2 separate regions of the Homo sapiens genome follow, and region 1 is linked to region 2. Evidence: promoter capture Hi-C in 16 types of primary human blood cells and fetal thymus (Javierre and others, 2016). All regions are on one chromosome and are shown on one strand. Each heading gives the region's core, a stretch centred on a gene start or on the middle of the fragment in contact. The rest is flanking DNA. Distances are from core to core; before and after follow the strand shown.

Evidence for each region. Contacts are between HindIII fragments. The CHiCAGO score rates a contact against its expected background, and 5 or more counts as called.
Region 1: a contact is called between a fragment that was not itself captured here and the fragment with the promoter of PCED1A in region 2, in 3 of 17 cell types (megakaryocytes, total CD8 T cells and activated CD4 T cells). The highest score is 8.0, in megakaryocytes.

Annotation. Positions count from the first base shown.
Region 1 is chr20:2,738,633-2,741,335 of GRCh38, reverse strand. All of the region lies in intron 6 of EBF4 (EBF family member 4), which reads right to left. Among named protein-coding and RNA genes, the nearest start is that of EBF4, 47 kb to the right of the region's middle. RefSeq lists an enhancer at 2,193-2,703. The HindIII fragment of the contact is 5,127 bases long and covers 1-2,703 here.
Region 2 is chr20:2,839,296-2,841,995 of GRCh38, reverse strand. PCED1A (PC-esterase domain containing 1A) reads left to right here and starts at 1,341. Exons shown (of 8, transcript NM_022760.6): 1 at 1,341-1,785; 2 at 2,063-2,207. The coding sequence starts at 2,084. VPS16 (VPS16 core subunit of CORVET and HOPS complexes) reads right to left here and starts at 1,251. Exons shown (of 24, transcript NM_022575.4): 1 at 1,169-1,251. The coding sequence starts at 1,221. RefSeq lists enhancers at 443-974, 1,508-2,039. The HindIII fragment of the contact is 13,128 bases long and covers 1-2,700 here.

The DNA of each region.
Region 1 (2,703 bases), core at 144-2,643, 100 kb after region 2:
TGGGATGGAGCTGCTTTTTTTTTTCAGTCAGGGTCTCGCTCTGTCACCCAGACTGGAGTGCAGTGGTGTGATCTTGGCTCACTGCAGCCTTGACCTCCCAGGCTTAAGTGATCCTCTCACCTCAGCCTCCTGAGCAGGTGGGACTACAGGTCACACTACCATGCTCAGCTAATTTTGTTTATTTTTTGTAGAGACGGAGGTCTCAGTACGTTGCCCAGGCTGGTCTCAAACTCCTGGGCTCAGGCGATCCTTCTGATTCAGCCTCCCAAAATGCTGAGATTACAGGCATGAGCCACCATGCCTGGCCTGGAGCTTCTTTTGGAAGACAACGTCCAGGAACTTTACAGTGAGTTGATGCCTGCCTGATTCCCTCATGCCCCAGCTGCAGTGTAGACTGTCAAATGGCTCGCAGCTGCCCCAAGGTAATCTGAGAATTACCCTCAGCCAAGAGCATATACTCCCCACCAGTAGCCCACAGCCAATGACAGATTGACATTACAAGGAGGACCAACTCTCTGGCCATTCACACTCCAGACCTCTGCATGGGATAGGCTGACGCTAGACTCCGACCGAGACCACCTCCTTGTTAAACTCCCTCTATACTCATTCCTTTTCTCCTGAGAGCTCTCCTTTGATAAACCTCTTTCACAAGAATCCCCATCTCAGGCTCTGCTTCCAGGAATCCCACCCTAAGAAAACTTAGGTCACAGAGCTAAGGCTTTTCACCAGCTTTTTCTTCCCTGCATCCCCATGAGATACTTAGGGCTGAAATTATGTTCTCACTTCCAAAGAGAAAGCTGTCAGTAACTCAAAGAGCTGGAAGGAGAGCCCGAGTGCATTTTCCACTACAGGTCTGTCAGGGGCAAGGAAGAACGTGTCTAGATTACAGTGCTCCCTAAGGGAACTTTTTCCAGAATGATATGCATTAGCCACGCATGGCTACTAAGCACTGGAAATGTGGCTAGTGCAACTGAGGAACTGAATTTTATTTCATTTTAATTAACATAAATCTATTTTTTTTTTGAAACGGAGTCTCGCTCTGTTGCCCAGGCTGGAGTGCAGTGGCGTGATCTCGGCTCACTGCAACCTCCACCTCCTGGGTTCAAGCGATTCTCCCGCCTCAGCCTCCTGAGTAGCTGGGACTAAAGGCGACTGCCACCATGCCCAGCTAATTTTTGTATTTTTAGTAGAGACAGCGTTTCACCATATTGGTCAGGCTGGTCATGAACTCCTGACCTCTGGTGATCCACCCGCCTTGGCCTCCCAAAGTGCTGGAATTACAGGCGTGGGCCACTGCGCCCAGCCATTTTAATGAACATAAATCTAAATAGTCACATGTGGCTCGAGACTACCATATTGGACAGTGCAGATCTAGAAAGAAGGTATGCAGTGAATGGATATACGAGCTGGGGCAGGATGTTCCAAACAACAGTGTGTCCTGTGAAGGCCTTGGGAAAGACAGCAGGTTAAGAGTGAAGGGTAGATTAAATTGGATATGTGTTTCCAAGCCCAAAGCTGGCACTGCAGCCTGAGATGGGGAAATAAGGGGACAGGGATCTCCGCTAATTTTTATCCTAAAAGATTTGTCTTGGGCTCCCATGAGCCTCCGAAGAAACTGAAGCAGTTTCTGGCTCTCCAGCGTGTTCACTGTCTGCTTCTCTCTACCCTCAGCTCAGGGACAGAGGAGGACACAGAGGGCTGGGCCATTCATCCCCTCATTCATTCCATACACCCACTTAAAAAGATTTATTAAATACCTTCTATGTGTTAGGCACTGCGGCATTGTATAAAATCTTAAGGAAATTACAACCCAACAGGAAAGAGAAACTCAGGAAGACAGAGTGGTGGGCACGGCAGGAGGATGTGCCAAGTGTAATCTGCAGTGGCCACTTATTTTGCCTAGGGGAGGCGGAATGCTTCCTAGAGCTCCAATTTGGTCTTGGGTGATGGGTCTTGGAGGATCTCACCGAGAAGTAGGAGGCAGGGCCCTCCATGCAAAGGGACTAACAGCTCCACCACGGGGCAGACGGCTCACTCGATCAGTGGTGCCTGACAAGACTGAGGAGGGCAGCGTGGCTTGGGGCCTGGGGTTGGGACCAAATCATGCGGGACTTGGATCCTCTGGGTGATGGGAAGGCTACAGGGGATGTCTCCCTTCAGGCAGAAACAGGCACCAAAGGGCCTACGCTAGAGAAGGGAAGGGAAATGAGGAGCTTACTGTAATAGTTCAGGCCCATGTGGGGTTGGCCCAGGCTGCTTCCTGGTCTTAGCCTGCGGTAGAAGCCAAGATAGACTGTCCCCAGGGCCACAGCCACCTGCCAGGCCTGGACCTGGCCTCCCCACCATGATCCCCACCCGGGTAGAGGTGGCTGCAGTGCAGATGGGCTGGAGGACTATAAATAGCCAGGGCGCATACATTAGCATGCCAATGCACCCGCACCCCATCCTCTATGCTAATGGCCCACCATGCGCCTGAACACCTTCTGTTCCCCTGCATGCATTTGCATGCACAATTAGCATAATCTTGTATAATTAATGAACAGCGTCAATTTTAGCTCCTAAGTAATTTGATTAACATGTTGATAGGGCACTTACTAGGCTCTCCAAACCTCAGGGCTGGGCATGGGGCCTGAGGAGAAGGGGAGGGGGTGTGGAGAGACTGCTAAGGGGCCCCCAGCTGCCCACCAAGAGTGGCAGTGGCTC
Region 2 (2,700 bases), core at 92-2,591:
ATTGCTTAAGGTCAGAAGTTCAAGACCAGCCTGGCCACCATGGTGAAACCTCACCTCTAGCAAAAAATACAAAAATTAGCCGGGCGTGGTGACAGGGGCCTGCAGTCTCAGCCACTCGGGAGGCTGAGGCAGGAGAATCCCTTGAACCCGGGAGGCGGAGGTTGCAGTGAGCCGAGTGCCCCTGCACTCCAGCCTGGGCAACAGAGGAAGACTCTGTCAAAAAAAAAAAAAATGCTTTCAGCCCTGAAGGAGCCTGGTTTAGCAGAAGAAACCTATACAAATGTCGCCTAAATATACAAATAGACCATACCTAAAAGACCCTAGCACTGGGCCCAGTGAGGCCCACAGGATTCTATTGGGGGAGAATCAGGCACAGTTCCAGAAAGAACCCTTGAACTACTAAGTCCTGAAGGATGCGCAAAATTCTTCAGTGAGATAAAGAGAGAAATGGCAGTATCCACAGAAACTGCAGACTGGTTAGGGCCTTGTAATTCTGCGCAGCTGGAACGCAAGATTTGGGTAGGAGAGCGGTAGATGAGGTTGGAGAGACAAACGGGCTGCCTTACAGATAGACGTTCCACGAGAAGTTCGTAGTTTTTCCTATTAGGGAAGCTATGGGAAAATCCTAATCTGGGTAACGATGTAACGGGTTTACACTTTAGAAAAATCCGTGGTTTAGGACTCTACAACTCCCATGGGCGGGCTGCCCTAACCCAGGGGTTCCCACTTCCGCTGTTCCGGGATTCACGGACGACTCGCCCCCTTTTCCCAGCCTTGGTCAGCACTGTTACCCCGCCCGCCGTGCGATCCCGCCCCCCTCGGAGCGCCCCTGTGGTCTGACTTCAGCAGCACTTTCCGGCAGGAGACTGGGCACTCGCTGTCACCCGCGAGCTGCCTCCCTCAGCGAGATCTGAGCATCTTTCCGGAGGCTAACAGACCTGGGCTTCGGGGTGACCACTGTGCTTGCCTCAGTTTCCTTTTCTGGAGCAGGGGAAGGCCCGGCTCCCTGCCCAAAGGCGGCTGTGCGCTAAGTGGCAGACGCTCGGGGAGAGCCGGCGCGGGGCGGACCCCAGCGCCAGTAGTGACAGGGGCGAACGCCGCCGGGAGACTCCAGCCGGCGGGCGAGCAGGGTAAGCCAGGCCGTGGGCGGGAGGGCGGGGCAGCTCACCGGTAAAAGGCAGAGTCCCCGAGTGGGTTCCAGTTCGCCGTGTAGCAGTCCATGGCTGGTGCAGACGGCAGCTGGGAAGCACCGAGGGGACACCCACCTAGAGCGGGCTCCAGGCCGGCACTTCCGCTTCCGCCCGTCCGGGTCACGTGGCGAGGCCGCCGCCGCGGCCATCACCACTGTGGGCAGCCTCACTTGGCTGCCGCCCCGAGACCCCAGCCCGTACCTGGGCTTCGCGCCCGCCAAGTGGGCCCAGCCCTGGCTCCTGCGCCCTGTGGCGGCCACCTCCATCGCCTTGCTTTCCCTTCGGGCACTGGGGGTCGCTCAGGGCGGGACATGGGTGAACGGAAGTGGAAGCTGTGAGCGTCGCAGCCCGAGGCGCCGAGGCCTGAGGCGCCGTCGGGGCCACAGCGACGCTCGCATGGAGAGCGCTGGGCGCTGGGCTGTGCACCGACGGCTAACCTGGACCCACGGTCTCTGCGGGGCGGGAGCTTTGCAGAACCGACTGGCCGACTGGGGCGCGGGAACATGAGGCTTGGCTAGGAGCCCGCTGCGGGCCAGGCGCGCGGTGCGCAGGCATACCCGGGTCGCGGGTGAACACCGCGGAGCCCCGGGACTTGGTAATTGGCGCGAGCGGGTGCGCGCATGCGCGGGACGGCGGCGGGCACGTGGCGAGGCGCAGGGCGGCGCCGCGCGGGAAGCTCCCCAGTGCCCTGGAGGCCTGCTGGCTGGACGACCCCCTGCCTCTGGTACCAAGTGTGACCAAGGCTGGCGCCACCATGGCTCTGCTGCCGTCACCTCCTCCCTTTAGCATTGAGCAGCCCCGGAGGGGCTAGCCCTGAGGCTGACCTGCCCAGAGTCCCCACCATCGCGCTGCTTAGTGGCCTCTCCCTGCAGCCTGTCGTTGCTGGTGGCGGCATGGTCTTCTGTCTGTCGAGCGAGGAGCCGCGCCGCCCGCTGCGAAGCGACATGGTCCACTTCCAGGCCTCGGAAGTCCAGCAGCTGCTACACAACAAGTTCGTGGTCATCTTGGGGGACTCCAGTGAGTGCCTCTTCTAGGGTGACGCTTCCAGTCCCACACCTTGCAGCCCGTTCAGTGTGTCTGGACCATTTGTTTCCATCTCACATCTCTTGTCTGTCTTCTGGTCTGTTCCGTCCAGTAGGTTTTCTCTTTTTATGTCCCACACATCTTCCACAGGAGTCCTGACAGGTGTAATAACCTGTGCACTTTTTAGCCCATCCTTGCTCAGCATTTCTCGCCCTGACAGCTCCCCATAATTTCCATCACGAAAGCGTTGCATTGTGTAGTGTGTCTCCTGGGTGACTTGGCCGACTTAATTTCTGCCAGGTGATCTTGGGTCACTGTATACTGCTGGCCAGGAGGCACACAGAACAGAGGCAATGCCAGGACTTTTTAACCTCATCTTTTCTCCTGCGTCTAAGTCAACCACAGAGCTGGTGTCGGGCACCTCAGCCCTGGGAAAATGGGGTCCTGGACTTGGAAGGAGCTGGGGCAGGCTGAGGTCTGCCTCAGC